Regions from separate parts of the Homo sapiens genome. Here all the other regions are linked to region 5. The links are contacts of gene promoters, found by promoter capture Hi-C in blood cells and fetal thymus (Javierre and others, 2016). All regions are on one chromosome and are shown on one strand. Each heading gives the region's core, a stretch centred on a gene start or on the middle of the fragment in contact. The rest is flanking DNA. Distances are from core to core; before and after follow the strand shown. Region 1 has its middle 25 kb from the start of MIR4783. Region 2 overlaps IWS1 (interacts with SUPT6H, CTD assembly factor 1). Region 3 overlaps IWS1 (interacts with SUPT6H, CTD assembly factor 1). Region 4 has its middle 41 kb from the start of MIR4783. Region 5 holds the start of ERCC3 (ERCC excision repair 3, TFIIH core complex helicase subunit).

The links. Contacts are between HindIII fragments. The CHiCAGO score rates a contact against its expected background, and 5 or more counts as called.
Region 1: a fragment that was not itself captured here is called in contact with the fragment with the promoter of ERCC3 in region 5 in 5 of 17 cell types (endothelial precursors, M2 macrophages, erythroblasts and 2 more); the score reaches 7.2 in endothelial precursors.
Region 2: a contact is called between a fragment that was not itself captured here and the fragment with the promoter of ERCC3 in region 5, in 11 of 17 cell types (neutrophils, endothelial precursors, M2 macrophages and 8 more). The highest score is 8.4, in neutrophils.
Region 3: a fragment that was not itself captured here is called in contact with the fragment with the promoter of ERCC3 in region 5 in 16 of 17 cell types (endothelial precursors, erythroblasts, megakaryocytes and 13 more); the score reaches 13.1 in endothelial precursors.
Region 4: a contact is called between a fragment that was not itself captured here and the fragment with the promoter of ERCC3 in region 5, in 8 of 17 cell types (endothelial precursors, M1 macrophages, megakaryocytes and 5 more). The highest score is 13.1, in endothelial precursors.

What each region holds. Positions count from the first base shown.
Region 1 is chr2:127,446,926-127,450,273 of GRCh38, forward strand. No RefSeq gene overlaps it. Among named protein-coding and RNA genes, the nearest start is that of MIR4783, 25 kb to the left of the region's middle. The HindIII fragment of the contact is 3,775 bases long and covers 1-3,348 here.
Region 2 is chr2:127,485,530-127,488,678 of GRCh38, forward strand. IWS1 (interacts with SUPT6H, CTD assembly factor 1) reads right to left here. Exons shown (of 14, transcript NM_017969.3): 13 at 1,024-1,135. Among named protein-coding and RNA genes, the nearest start is that of IWS1, 39 kb to the right of the region's middle. The HindIII fragment of the contact is 8,127 bases long and covers 1-3,149 here.
Region 3 is chr2:127,506,487-127,509,561 of GRCh38, forward strand. All of the region lies in intron 2 of IWS1 (interacts with SUPT6H, CTD assembly factor 1), which reads right to left. Among named protein-coding and RNA genes, the nearest start is that of IWS1, 18 kb to the right of the region's middle. The HindIII fragment of the contact is 2,455 bases long and covers 247-2,701 here.
Region 4 is chr2:127,462,950-127,466,035 of GRCh38, forward strand. No RefSeq gene overlaps it. Among named protein-coding and RNA genes, the nearest start is that of MIR4783, 41 kb to the left of the region's middle. RefSeq lists an enhancer at 650-1,257. The HindIII fragment of the contact is 3,714 bases long and covers 1-3,086 here.
Region 5 is chr2:127,292,532-127,295,640 of GRCh38, forward strand. ERCC3 (ERCC excision repair 3, TFIIH core complex helicase subunit) reads right to left here and starts at 1,613. Exons shown (of 15, transcript NM_000122.2): 1 at 1,523-1,613; 2 at 982-1,187; 3 at 79-315. The coding sequence starts at 1,550. The HindIII fragment of the contact is 2,323 bases long and covers 638-2,960 here.

The sequences.
Region 1 (3,348 bases), core at 503-3,002, 150 kb after region 5:
TTAAAATTTATCTGGAAACTTCTTCTTTGTCCCAACATGTCATAAGTGTGTTGCCTAATCTCCAAATATTTTGGGGTTTTCTAGCTATCTGTTATTGATTTATAGCTTAATTCCATTGTGGTCTGAGATCATACTTTGTATAATTTCCGTTCTTTTAGATTTATTAAGGTGCGTTTCATGGCTGAGAATGTGGTCTATCCTGGTGAATGAATGCTCCAAGTGAGCTTGAGAATGTGTATTCTGCTGTCATTGGATGAAGTATTCTATAGATGTCCATTAGATCCAGTTGATTGATGATGCTGTTGAGTTCAACTATGTCTTTGCTAGTTTTCTGCCAGCTGGATCTGTTAAATAGAGGGGTACTGAAGTCTCCAACATAAAAATGAGTTTGTTTATTTCTCCCTGCAGTTCTATCAGTTCTTGCCTCATCTTGGGACACTGTGTTGCTAGGTGCACACACTTTAAACACTGTTATATCATCTTTGACAACTGACCCCTTTATGGCTATGCAATGCCCCTCTTCATCCCTGATAACATTCCTTGCTCTGAGGAAGTCTACTTTGCCTGAAATTAACACAGCCACTCCAGCTGTCTTTTGATTAGTGTTAACATAGTATACTGTATCTCCATCCCTTTACTTTTAATCTATTTCTTTATATTTAAAGTATATTTCTTCCATTTCTATTCATTGCCCTTGATTTGTTTTGTTCTTTCTAGCCTTTTCAGGTTGTGTGTGTGTGTGTGTGTTGTGTGTGTTTTGCTTTCTCTGGTTTTAATCGAGCATTTTATATTATTCCCTTTTTACTCCTCTCTTATCATACAAATTATACTTGTGGGGTTTTTTAATGTGTGTGGTTTCCCGTGACTTTGCAGTAAATATTTACAACTAATTCAAGTCTTCTTTCATAAAACACTTTACCACTTCATGGGTAGTGCAAATACCTTATGAAAAAGTATTCTCAATTCCTCTCTTCCATCTTTATAACACTGCTGTCATTCATTTATCCATAAGCTGTAATCACTATTAACTGAAAAAACTTTACCTATTAGTTAAAAATGAGAAAGCTAAATTTTTATTTTACCTTCATTTATTTCTTCTCTAACACTCTTCCTTTCTTTATGTAGATCTGAGTTTCTGACCTACATAATTTCCCTTTCCTTCTGAAGAATTTAACACTTCTTGCGAGGCAGGTCTACTGGTGACAAATTCTCTCAATTTTTGATTGTCTGATAAAGTCTTTACTTCTCCTTCACTTAAAAAAAAAAACAAAAAAACCTTTATTGTATTTCCAGTATCTCCTTCACCTTTGAAGGATAACATTTGGTGAATACAGAATTCTAGGTTGATGGGTTTTTTTTCTTTCAACGCTTTAAATCCCATAAACCACTCTCTTCTTGGGTGCAGTTTCTGATGTGAAGCATGATATAATGCTTACCATTGTTCTTCTACAGATAAGATGTTTTTCCCCTCTGGCTTCTTTCTATATTCTTCCCATGTCTTTGATTTTTGCAGTTTGAATAGATATTCTTAGGTGTAGATTTTTTGGGGTATTCATCCTGTTTGGTGTTCTCTGGGCTTCCTACACCTGTGGTTTGGTGTCTGCCATTAATTTTGGAAAGTTCTGTTATTACTTCAAGTATTTCTTCTGTTTCTTTCTTCTCTGTGTGGTATTCCCATTATGTGTACACTATCCTTTTATACCTTTGGTATTTGTCCCACAGTTCTTGAATATTCTATCCCATCATTTCCATTACTTCTTCCTCTCTGCATTTCAATTTTGGGAGTTTCTATTGACATTCCTTGAAGCTCACTGATTCATTCCTTGGCCATGTCCCATCTATTCATGACTCCACTAAAAGCATTCTTCACTTCAGTTACAGTGTTTATTTTTATTTCTAGCATTTTGTTTTGCTTTTTTCCTTTTTTCTTTTTATAGAGACAAGGTCTCACTATGTTGCCCAGCCTGGTCTCGAACTCCTGGGCTCAAGCGATCCTCCTCAGCCTCCCAAAGTGCTGGGATTACAGGTGTGAGCCACCGCATCTGGCCATTGCACCTGATTCTTTCTTAGGCATTTCCATCTTTCTACTTACATTACTCCTCTGTTCTTGCATGTTAGCCACTTTTCTTATTTGAGTCCTTAGCATATTAATCAATTATTTAAAATTTTCTGTCTGATAATTCAAGCATCTCTGCCATATCTGTCTTATTCTGATGTTTGTTCTGTCTATTCAAAGTGTATTTGTCTCTTATAAAACATGATGTGTTGGGCAAAAGAAACTGAGGTAAACAAGCCTTTTGTGAGGCTTTCTGTACTTTACTTCTCCTTCACTTAAAAAAAAAACAACAAACCTTGATTGTATTTCCAGTATCTCCTTCACTTTTGAAGGATAATTTGGTGAATACAGAATTCTATCTGGCTAGGAGTTGGGCTGTGTTTACCGTTTGCTCTAGCTGTAGGTGTCAGAGGATAACATTTACTTTGGTGTTCTTGTCTGTGGCTTCCCTGTTGTCTTTGGGTTTCCCTAGAGTCTTCTTCATAAATCAGGTCTGAGATGTGCAGTTCAGTTGTATTCTCGTTATTACAGGAGCCCTGTTGATGTGTTAGTGAGGGGTGGAGGGACGAAGCATTCTATAGGTCTCAGTCTTTTAATGAACCTCTGCAGGGGCTGTGACCAACACAAGGGCTTCTCATTTGTCTTTCCCCGCTGGAGGTGGGCAGGAAGCCTAGAGGAGGGTAGAGTTGGGTATTTCTCTTCCCACATGTCAGGCTCCGGTAAAACAGTTTCCCCTGAGGACAGACCTTGTTAAGAAGAGAATGCTCTGGGTTACCTTTTCTTTTCCTCTACCAGAAGCAGCAGGGAATTTTTCTCTGATCTTTACTGTGACAACTTGGTAAAGCAAAACAAAACAAAAAACTGTGTGGGGCCCTGTAAGACTGGCTCCCCTGGTATTTTTAACTCTCTCATGGAGTGCCCAGCAAATCATCAATTAAGTTTTAAGTTTCCCTACCCCGGTACTGGTTCCTGTGGAGTTTTCTACTCCTAGGCCTCTGCTCCCGTAAGTTCTGGTTCTCTGTATGTGCTTCTCTGTCTCTCCATTTTGAGGACAGCAGTTTGCCCTGTGGCCTCAGATCTCTGGTGGATCAAGAAAAGTTGTTGATTTTCAGTCTGTTCAGCGTTTTTCTTGTTGTGAGGTTGGGGGTGATGACTGCTAAGCTCCTCACATGCCAACTGAAAATGAACAGTGTCTTTTGAAGAATGACAGTTTTTAATTTTGAAATAGTCCAATTTATTTTTTCCTTTATAGGGTTTTTTGTGTCATATTTTAAAACCCCTGACAAATTCAA
Region 2 (3,149 bases), core at 45-2,544, 190 kb after region 5:
GAAACCACTAACTAGTTTATATGCCTGTAACACATATCACTGTAATTCTGGGTCCTAACAAAAACCTTTTTCATAAAAACGGGTACCAGTCAGGAAGACCCAAATGCATATTAGGGAAGTAATTATCTATTACTCTCTAGGATACTGATAAAGGAAGGGACTTCCATGTCAATTTCTAAATATTCAAGAGGCCTTGAATATCCCAAGGTGCCTGTTAGGGTCATTATTTTGAAACTAAAAGCAGACCTGGCCTCTTCTGATTAAGAAAGCACACACACACACACTTTTCACTCTGACTGTTGACAATTCAAGCCCATGCACAGTACATGCTTCCTTGGGAATACCTCTCGTGTATATACTCTGGTAGGGCCAGGCCTATAGGGGCATCCTGTTGCCTTCAATGCTGAACTTGACAGCACGATGCACTTTGCTGAGTCGTTTCTGTTCTGCAAATCGCCTCTTATGCTTTTCCAATCGGCTTAGGCCCTTTTTAAGAATACCAGGCTAGAAGTAGTAGTTTGATTGGAGAATAAAAAGAGATTACTGAGAAACACTGAAGATCCACTGAGCAGTATTTACAATGATAACAGAATAAGTGTCTACCCTAATCATTTGCAATGGAATTGCTTAAACCGTTGAAGAGAAAGGGAGAGGTAGGTCTGCTGAAGCACGTAAGCTCTGTTTCTCATGGTTATTAAAAAAAAAAATTCACTGTATCAGAATACTCCAGGTTTCAATTTCAAGCCTTGCTTGAAGTAAAGGGATTAATAAGAAGAAACTTCCCTACCTGATAATGTTGAATTAAGACTGAAGAAAAATTCATCAGCAATAAACTTTAATCCTGGGTAATACTTTTCCTTTCTCTATTGCTCAATTTGTGGTTTGGCTAGATAAGCGACCAGAAAACAGTCCTCTCTGAATCAGACAAACTTCAAGAGCTACAAGGGTTATTAACACATGAAGTAAAGAGTCAAACAGTAATCTGCAGGTGAGATCCACCTTGCCGATCCTCCGCTTGCTTACCCTGGATGACTCCATTTCCACATTCCATTTGGGCCTGACAACATAGTCCTTGTTTGAAGGCATTGGGACCCTTGCACGGGCACAGAATCCAGGATCTCCAGGTCTAAGAGCCCTGAAAAAGGGAAGAGGAAGAGCATGCTTCTTATGTGGCCAGCCACAGTGGGGCACATAGGCCATTTCACACTCCTGTTCCTACATCCACCCATTAAGCTGCAATGTTCGAAACTCCTCTACTCCCCACCAAAGGTCACCCAATCCACCCTCCTGCCGCCTCCCAGCTAGCCTGTCATCACACACACTACAGTATGCATTCCTCACTTCTCTTCCAAAGCCAACTTGCTCTGCATTTGCATGAATCCTTTTCTCCTCTCCTCAGCTTCAGATATACTCATGCCCCTCTGCCTTCCAAGGCTAGTCCCGCCCGCATGACTTGGAATCCCCTTTTCTCTTGTATAGTGGAGTCACTCATGAGTTCACTTGTGAGATGAGGAATTGTGAAGAATTGAGTCGTCAAATGACCCCCAAAACTCCCAGTATGCCTATAAAGTAGTTTTTCAATATACAACTCATACATCAATTTTTAATGTTTATTTTTGTAAAAATCTTTTGAAGATAATTACAGATTCAAATGAAGTTGTAAAAAATGATAGAGAGAGAGATCCAATGTCTCTCCCAATAGCAACAACTTGCGAATCTACAGTATAGTATCACAACCAGGATACTGATGTTGATACAGTACACTAATCTTATTTACACTTCCCCAGTTTTACTTGCACTCATTTATGTGTATGTATTTAGTTCTATGCAAATCCGTGGGTAACCATGCTAGACTAAAATAAGATTACTAACCTTCCAAAGTAAAGCCTATCTATGGATGCCTGGGCATTCAAACCATTCAGCATTTAGGTAACTAGTAAAGAGTGGATCTATGTGTGTCTGCTGGGGATGGGGAGAGAAGGGTAAAAAATTCTCAATTGTTTCTATTCTCTTGTACAGTTTACCCCATTTTTAACCCTAAACTTGAATCTCGCTCTGTTGCCCGGGCTAGAGTGCAGTGGCACAATCTCAGCTCACCGCGAGCTCCACCTCCTGGGTTTGTGCCATTCTCCTGCCCCAGCCTACAAAGTAGCTGGGACTACAGGCGCCCGCCACCACGTCCAGCTAATTTTTTGTATTTTTAGTAGAGATGGGGTTTCTCCATGTTAGCCAGGATGGTCTCAACCTCCTGACCTCGTGATCTGCCCACCTCAGCCTCCCAAAGTGCTGGGATTACAGGCGTGAGCCACCGCGCCCGGCCAACCTTAAACTTTTATAACCTTCATATATATATGAACAGACTAATTGGCTTGCCAAGAAAATTCCCTGTAACTCTTACTTTCCTTCTGAAGCCACGGTCTCATCAACTTCCTTCCTAAACAAACTTTTCCTCTAGCTCATCCCCTATTCTCTTCTTGCAATCGGGATGCTGCCTGACTACCAACACACCTGCACAAAGCCCTCTGCAGCACCTGCCACTGGCCCATGCTTTTGTCATTGCCACCTCCAGCTCAGCCTCATTCCCCTCCAGGCTCTGCTCCAACGCACAGGACCACAGGTGCTCATTCCCCTTCGCTGGCTGCTCTGCCTGGCTATGCCCCCTTTCAAAATTGTTTAGTTCGTTTCTTACTCTATACTCTCTTGATTGAACAATCTTTTCTATGGAGAGAACCATCAAATCTAGGTCTCTAGCCCAAACATCTCTTTACAAGTTCTAGACCCATAATATTTATAGGGCTATCTCATTAGGCATGTCACATTTAATATGCTCAAAAGAGAACTTGCCTGGTCCCTCAAATCTACTTCTCCCTCCATTTTGGTGAAAGGTAATAAACACTGTCTCAGCACTCAGGTTAAAATTTTGGCTGAGGTCTTCAACTCTAGCCATCTTCTCTCCCACTAAGTCACCAACATATGACAGCTTTGCCTCTGCAATGTCTTCTCACCCCTCTGTTTCCCAACTACCACCTCTGTTTAGCTGTATCACTGCCTCAGTCCCACTGCCCTCCAATCCATCCTACATGATGCCATTGGCATCAGCACCCTAAATCAAATCAAACCAGATGGCTTCACATCCAGCCTCAAAAACT
Region 3 (3,075 bases), core at 224-2,723, 210 kb after region 5:
GGAAAAGAACTATAAAATTTAATTTTATTTAAAGGGTCAAATAACATATGGGCACCTTCTCCCAAGATAATTTAAGCAAACAAAGAAAGGAGAAGTTAACATTTCCTAAGTACCCACTAAGAGCCAATACCACAACAGGCTCTCTCCTGTTAGTTCATTTACTCCTCATAATGGTACTTCTCATGATAACAAAATTGAGGCTTACAGTAGTCACGGTCCTGTGTCTAGTAACCCTAGAAACAAGAAAGCTTAAGTTTTAGGGAGAACATGATTCATCTAACTATACCAACACATAATGTTACTTGAAATAATTACTCTGAAAACATGCCCTGGGGTACAAACTTGATATGTGCATATTATAGCTATGGCTTTAAAATGCAGAGAAAAATATACAAAATTAAACATGCCAAAATACTAACAAGTATTTTAGGATCCGGTGAATTTTTTCTCCCATCTGGTAGCTCAACTTTAAATAACATGGCAATAATATTCTAGCTTAAAAAGTGAAAGTATTTCCGTGTTTGAGTATACCCTCTTAAAAATTTACTGAGCCAAATATTTCTTGTTAGATATATGACTTAAGCTATGTGAACCTACCACAGACCAATTTTCAAGGACCAAAGAGCCTTTAATAATATATATGCCCAACATCATGCTATGAAACAGTTAAGTGACAAGATTATTCTTGTCAATGACAAGATAAATGGCTTGAAAATGTTCTCATAAAACCCAAACTTTTACTAACCCAAGTATGCTGTGTCTACAAATTCAAAAAGAATATGAAAAATTATAAAATAGCCTACAAAGCCAATGTTTGAAGAGTTTTTAAATATTTTATCACCATTATGACAGCACAGCATTGCAAAGAGTCATTGCTATACACAGTCACTGAAATATAGCACATTCAGGTAAGTTTCCAAAATCATACACTTTTCAAAATTCCTAAATACATTTTTCTTGAGTTCTCACTGGGCACTCAACACAGTACTGTATTAGATTCCTTGTCAGTCACAAGCTCTATTATCCCACTGAAACAGGCACTTATCTATTAAAACGGTATTAGGACTTGAGAGATATCATAGAATCTTACAATTACCGTACAATAGTCTGTATGTTGCCTAAAGTTTACTTTAGCCACACTTCATAATTTAAAAGAATGCAGATGGAAAATTTAACTATCTAGATTGTAAGCTCTAGGAAGGCAGACATATTTTGGTTTGTTTTCCTGAGGTATCCTCAGAGTGCAGAATGGTCTCCAGAACATACACACACTAGGTAGAGTTCGAGCATTCCTAATCTGAAAATTCAGACAACTCCAAAATCTGAAACTTCTTGAGCACTGACATGACACCACAAGTGGAAAATTCCACACATAAGCACCCAACACAAACTTTGTTTCATGTGAAAAATTATTTAAAATAATGTGTAAAATTACCTTCCAGCTATGTATATAAGACACATGAATTTCGTGTTTAGACTTGGGTTCCATCGCCAAAATAGCTCACTCTGTATAAGTAAATATTCCAAAACTCGAAAAAATTCTAAATCCAAAACACTTCTGATTTGAAGCATTTTGGATAAGGGATACTCAACGTGTATTTGTTAAATGAGTAATAAAGGCCTTAAGTGGGAATAACATAAGGTGAGGAAAAATTAATCCAACAAGAATGTATTTCATGTCTACTACGTGCAAGACACCAAGAATCCAGGCGGAGTATGTCACAGGGCCTGACCTTAAGAGCTGCTGTCTGATGAGGAGCCAGCCAAGCATACTGTAACAGTATAGTGTGACATGCACTATTCACAAAGTATGTATATGATATTTCAAAAGTGTACTGGAAGTGCATCTATATGAAACTGAGCTGCAAAAAAAAGGTGTGCAGACAACAGGCATGTTTGCATGCAGTTTGTGATGGCTGAGTTAAGACGGGAGGGTGGGGAGAGGCATACAGTACCAGCAGAGGCAATTAAAGCAGGAGGCAAAAAGGAAAATTATAATTGGCTTTTGGAATGCTCTCCATGATATATCCATCACATAACTCTAACACCATTTCTATGTGTGACTTGATTTATTTTAGTTGAAACTACAGAAATCATCTCTAGCTAAGTCCAGAAAAAAAGAACAATCTTCTCAGGATCAAAGTCAGTTGAATGACTAAACACTTGGGAAGGTTAAGTACCAACGCAGCACAGAGAGCTTAGAAAAGGGAACTCAAGGATCATTTTACTAGAGTACCATCAGTAACATGACTCAGCTATACCCTGTCTAGAACCTAAATTATAAATCCCCAAGAGAGATGACTTAACTGGCCAAGGCAATATTAGAAACTGTGACTCAATCAGTTACAGCTGGATCGGGGCACAGCACTGGGAGTCACTCCCAAAGAAGTGAGAGACACTGGGCAGTCATCCAAAACTCACCCGCTACACTCTACCCCAGATTTCCTGACACATGGTGTAGCATTCCAAAACAAACCCTTACAAGGACACTGCATAAGACAATGATTGTAAAATTTAGGAATCCTCATGAATTTTTTATGAGTTTCACGAAAACATAGCATTATGTATGGCATGACAGGGCAAAAAAGGGGAGAAATCACTACAGTAAAGAAGTACTAGTTTAATAGACTCGAGCTAAAGAATACACTTAGACAACACCACCACAGAATTTGGGACGAGTATGCTGGAAATTATACAGTTAAGCTTAAAAGTTATCAAAACAATATCCAAAGTTTTTAGAGTGGTTTTGGCAATTAAATTGCAAGCTTAAAAAAAATCCAAAAGACAGTTTTTTAAAAGTCAGATGAGTACAACAAACCAACAGTTGAAACTGACATTTAATGTCATTTCTAAAATAATGTAACACATTTCCTAGTTGTAATGGTAAAAGAAATTGAGCACTCAGAAGGTCCTTAGATGCTTTAGAAACATCTATAATGCCGCCGGGCGCAGTGGCTCACGCCTGTAATCCCAGCACTTTGGGAGGCCGAGGTGGGCAGATCACGAGGTCAGGAGATTGAGACCATCCTGCCTAACATGGTGAAACCCTGTCTCTACGAAAAATGCAAAAAATTA
Region 4 (3,086 bases), core at 583-3,082, 170 kb after region 5:
GACACAAAAGGCGACACATTGTAGGATTCCATTTATATTAAGCGTAAAGAATAATCAAATCCATAAAGTAGATCAGTGGTTGCTGAGGACTGGTAGGAGGGGAAATGGGGAGTGTTATGGGACTTCTTTTTGGGGTGATAAGAATATTTAAACATGGATTGTGGGGATGGTTACATAACTGTGAATATACAAAAAAAAAAAAAACCATGGAATTACCTCTTTAAAATGACTGCAGCATGTGAATTAAATCTCAGTAAAGCTGTTACATTAAAAGAAAAAGCTAAAGTAAAAACAATATCTTTCAAGAATTGTATTGCAATCATATTACACCACGTGATGAAATCCTCAAAAACGTGGGGCAGGTGGTAAATCCTGGCCAAGGCTCCTCGAGCCAGGCCGGCTGGCAGTGCTGCATCGTGCTGAAGGCGCTGAGGTTGCAGCGGATGCATTCCGGGCCAGTGATATGATGTGGACAGGAAAAGTCTTTTGTTCTGGGAAAATGGAGGACTGAAACCTCTTCATGTCTTTTTCCCAGGCCCTGATTTAGGAAGACCAAAACAGGGACTTCTACAGTAGCAGCTTAATCAGCAGATGCTGGGTGGTCGCCTCTGCACATGGCCTGGGGGGCGGGGCGCCTTACCGCGTCACACTGGGTGGATGGGCCTGTGTGTGGCCTCTCTCCAGCTGTGGCTGACAGTACTCACTCAGCCCAGGCTTCCAGGCCCTCCTGGGCCCTCCTATCCACTGAAGGAAATGGGAGATGAGTGGGTAATGGAAAAGCCTTTGGAGTCAGATGTAAATCCATGACTTGACCACTTATTGCTGTGAGACCCTGGACAGCTGGATATAGAGTTCTTGTTCTAGCATCCGCCCTGGGAATCCCCGGAACTGGGCCTCTTACCGACACCATTGCCTGTAATCCACAAACCTAGGAGGTAGGAGTGGCTTTCTTTCGCAGATCCTCCCTCTCCCTGAGTCCCAGAGTTACTGGGCAAACTCGGTTGACCACAGGCATCCAGGCGGTCTCAACCTGGTTTTGTTGTTTTGACACAGTTGTCATTTTTGTAGTTACCCTTGTAATGTAAAAGGTTTTCTTTTTTCCCTTTTTCTTCCCCCCAACCCGCCCATTTTCTTTTCTCTCCTCCCAGTCTCCTGCCTTCCTTTCACCCTCCAAAAGAAGTCTAACTATTAGAGTTGGCAGCAAAATTTGAAGAAAGTGGTTTAAAACTCAGAGAGCCAGGGCTGGGGGTAGTGGCTCACACCTGTAATTCCAGCACTTTGGGAGGCTGAGGCAGGTGGATCACCTGAGGTCAGGAGTTCAAGAGCAGCCTGGTCAACACTGAAACCCCATCTCTACTAAAAATACAAAAATTAGCTGGGCATGGTGGCGCATGCCTGTAATCCCAGCTACTCATGAGGCTGAGGCAGGAGAGTCACTTGAACCCAGGAGGTGGAGGTTGCAGTGAGTGGAGGTCATGCCATTGCACGCCAGCCTGGGCAACAGAGAGATACTCAGTCTCAAAAAAACAAAAACAAAACAAGTCAGAGAGCCAGAAAATAGGAATTTTAGAGTAAGGAACTGGGGCAATTACATGCTCTGGCAGCGTTTAAGAATCTGGGGGCCCCAAAGCCAGCCCTGGGCATTTCTTGGGTATCATGTACCTCTCTGTGGGGGCAGTGCTTCAAAGCCTCCCACTCAGGAGATCTTTGTCAGCAGTGTGATGAGTGGGAAGAGAAAGGCGTACAGCAGTGTGCATGCCAGGCCCCATATGCTTTTAAAAAGGGACTTTATAGCTACGGACAGTCCTATAAGAGAGCAGAAACTGATTTCCTCCCTGTGGTAGGGAGATTTTTCTTACCCTTTTGAACTGTTTCTTTTTTTAACCATGAGGAGGTTACTTTCCATCTAAAAAGTAATAATGTAAAAACCACATGGGGGTGAATGGTATAGAGCCGAGAAGTGCCTGCTCCGGAGGCTGCAAGCTCGGGCTCCCGCAGCACAGCTGCTGCCCACTCTGCTGGAGGCCTCTTCTGGGTGCATCTTCATGAGTTACAAGAAGCACATTACTTTGACCCCAAAGGTAATTATCTTGACTCACTAATTATCTGAATCAGCATATTTGGCTTGGAATCACATAGCTATTACTCCAAACCTGCTCTTTCTTGAAAGAGCAAAGGTTTTTGGCTAGTTGGTTGTTTTACCATTTATAGACATTCAAAAGACTCTTAAGGCAATGTTAAGACTTGTTAACTGGATGGGTGTGGTGGCTCATGCCTATAATCCCAGCACTTTGGGAGGCCAAGGCTGGAGGAGCATTGCTTGAGCCCAGAAGTTGGTGACCAGCCTGGGCCATCATAGTGGGACTAACCTTGCCTCTACTAAAAAAAAAAGACTTGTTGATATGGTTTGGCTGTGTCCCCAACCACATCTTATCTTGAATTGTATCTCCCACAATTCCCACGTCATGGGAGGAACCCAGTAGGAGGTGATTGAATTGTGGGGGTGGGTCTTTCCTCCACTGTTCTCGGGTAGTGAATGAGTCTGATGAGATCTGATGGTTTTAAAAACGGGAGTTTTCCTGCACAAGCTCTCTCTTTGCCTGCAGCCATTCATGTGAGACGTGACTTGCCCCTCCTGCCTTCTGCCATGATTGTGAGGCCTCCCCAGCTATATGTAACTGGAAGTCTTTAAACCTTTTTCCTGTATAAATTACCCAGTCTTGGGTATGTCTTTATCAGCAGTATGAAAATGAACTAATACATTTGTTACATATTTTGAGCCATGGAAAGTGCTCAATTTGGAATAAGTATATGCCCTTGAAGGGTGGCAATTTTCACCAAGATGGATACCACAATATTTGAATGTTTACCATATGCCAAACAATTCCCACACATAATATCTTATTTTCTTCTAACAACACCTCTATAAGGTAAGTGCTATTATTACTCCCACAGAGACCAATTAGGGAAATGACTTATTCAAAGTCAAAGAGTTAGTAAACTATTGGAGCCAGGATCTGAGGCTAGGTCTGGTTAAACTCCAGAGCCTGAGCACATAATCCTTACACTACTGTGAACTGTGGGAA
Region 5 (3,109 bases), core at 363-2,862:
GGCTGACAACATGGAGCACCTATGCCTATTGTTACATTAGCAGGGCAGGTGGAATTGCTGGTCTCAGCTGTCACTTGCCTTAATAAACTGCATAATTCCATCAGGGACTCCAGTCTTGCTGAGCTTCCTGAGGTACTCGGTGATGTCACTGGTTTGCAGCCCAACGCTGACAGCTGCATACAAGGAGTAGGCAGTTAGTTTGTACTCATGCACATGGGTTGGTCGGCACACTGGCTCTGCAATAGCCACCAAGAAGTCTTGGGCATATTTGTAAACTGGAGAGAAGGCTTCCAAGAAGATATGGCCATCGGGAGCCTGAGAGATACCAAATGGACAAAACAGACAAGGAAACATGAGTTGCAGAGACTACTGGGCTCTTGCCCATATCATTATCAAGAAAGAATAAGCTGCCCAACACCACAGATATTCTTGCAAGCACTCCTTCAGACAACTGTGGGGCCTGTTACATTAATCAGATACAGAAGAGTAAAGAAAAATAGAAGAAAGTGTTTCCAAAGTCAACAGCTGTTTCCTACTATTCTGCACAGAGAAAGCCCATCTTACTGGCTATCCTCAAGTTACCTTTTGGCTAGATTTCAACTAAATGTATAACATTAATTATTTAAAGTAGAGCAAAAGCTTGCTACCGAACATGTCTTCCATTATTTGAGGAAACAAACTGTTACATGATAAATGCTATTTATTCGGCAGATAAAAGGATTCACTACATGGGGTAGGGCTGGGGAAGGAGTGAGAGTAAACCGAGGGGTTAGAGCTGTTGGAAGCCCAGGTCCGGCCGCCACACGTGTGCGCAACTGCTCGCTGTTGCCTTGGGCTGTTCCAACGTGTGTGGATGAAAATTCTCTCCCGGCCAGTTCTAGGGGCAGTATCCTGAATGTCAGTTTTGACTCTGAGGATGCCCAAGATTTAGCTGCCGCTCCGCACACTCCTGGGCCCTGCCCAAGCTAAGGGCATGCTTACCACCCAGAGGGGCCTGGAGGTGTGGTCGTCCTTCAGCGGCATTTGCAGCCTGTAGTCCTTGGCTCCATATTCATCCACTTTGGTGCCTGACTCATCCACCTGCTTCCCCGCCGCCGAGGGAACCGCTTCCTGAGGGTCGTTCCCCGGGGCGTCCTCTTCATCATCCTCTTCATCCTCATAGTGCCGCTTCCTGGATTTCTTCTTGTCTGCAAGATACCAACACAGAAGTAAGCCCAGCAGGAGCCTTCAGGGTTCCCTCCGCACCGCTTGGCAGCATTTCACCTGCGCCGCCGCAAACTCCTAGCTAAGAGCCACCTGCATCCCGCAGGCGTTGCGCCCCTCACCCGTCTCCCCTAGGCCGAGTTCGCTGGGCTGCGCCCAGGTCCAGCATCTCTCCCGCCCAAAGGCCTGTCCCAACGGGGTGCGCGCGGGAGGGCCAGCAGGGTCGGCCGGCGCAGAGGCCCGGAGCAGCTCCGAGGCAGAGCGGGGGGCAGGGCCGGCAAGGGCAGTCGTGGCTGAGCGTGCCCGCGCAACGTCTCACCGCGGTCCGCTCGGTCTCTTTTGCCCATGGCAGCTACAGCAGCAGAGAGAAGATGACCCCGCTCCCACAGGCCCGCCGCGGCATCCGCTCTGGGGGGACTTCCGGCTCAATCCGGAAGCTCCCTGTTGTCCACACAGGATGTCCCGCCTCTAGGCGCCGTGATGTGGGTGGCTGGAAGAGCGGAGAGCCAGCGACCGCCGATCTGTTAGCTCGTGCGACCCAGCGGCGGGGGTCCTCCACTGTTCATTTCTCTACAACTGAAGGAAAATACTGTGTGTTGAGCACCTGTGTAGTGCGCGAATTAAAGGCCTCATCCTTCTGGAACTTAAATTTTAATGAAGCCATGTGGGCAATAAATGTGTGTGTGAGAGAGAGAGAGAGAGAATGTGACCTGAGTCCATGGGTAAGGAAGAATTCTTTTTTTTAATTAAAAAAAATTTGGCTGAGCACGGTGGCTCACGCCTGTAATTCCAGCACTTTGGGAGGCTGAGGTGGGTGGATCACTTGAGGTCAGGAGTTCGAGGCCAGCCTGGCCAACATGGTGAAACCCCATCTCTGCGAAAAATACAAAAAAAAGTAGCCAGGCATGGTGGCACACGCCTGTAGTCTAAGCTACTTGGGAGGCTGAGATGGGAGAATCTCTTGAACCCAGAAGGTAAAGGCTGCACTGAGCTGAGATTGCACCACTGCACTACAGCCTGGGCGACAGGCCGAGAGTTCGTCTCAAAAAAAATTTTTTTCTTTTTTTTTTTTTTTTTTTTGAGACGGAGTCTCGCCCTGTCGCCCAGGCTGGAATGCAGTGGCGCGATTTCAGCTCACTGCAAGCTCCGCCTCCCGGGTTCATGCCATTCTCATGTCTCAGCCTAAATAAAGCAGATTACCCTCAATAATGCGGGTGGGCCTCATCCAAATCAGTTGAAGGCCTTAAGAGCAAAGACAGGTTTCTCAAGGAAAAAGGAATTCTGCCTCCAGACTGCAACACAGAAAGTTCTGACTGAGTTTCCAGCCTTTGGACTCAAAACTACAACATCAACTCGTACCTGAATTCCCAACTTGCCAACCCCCACAATTGCATGAGCCAATTCTTTAAAATCAATCAATCAATCTCGCTTGCTCAGTGGGCCTCTTGGTTCTGTTTCTCTGGAGAACGTAACACAGATTTTTGGTACGGGGAATAGGGTACTGCTGTAACAAATACCTAACAATGGGGAAGTGGTTTTCAAATTGGGTAATCGGTAGAGGCTGAAAGAATTTTGAGGCGCATGATAGAAAAGCCTCTATTGTCTTGAAGAGCCTTGGTAGAAGTATGGGCATTAAAGGTGATTCTGGTGACGGCTCAGATGGAAAGGAGAAATATGTTATTGAAACTGGAGGCAAGTGGTAGAGAGCTTGCCTGAATTGTATTCTGTTGGGTGGAAAGTAGAACTTATAAGTGATAAGCTTGGACATTTTGCTGAGGAAATTTCTACATGATGGTTCAAAGTGAGGCCTGGGCCAGGCGCGGTGGCTCACGCCTGTAATCCCAGCACTTTGGGAGGCCGAGGCAGGGGATCATAAGGTCAGGAGTTCAATACCAGCCTGGCCAAT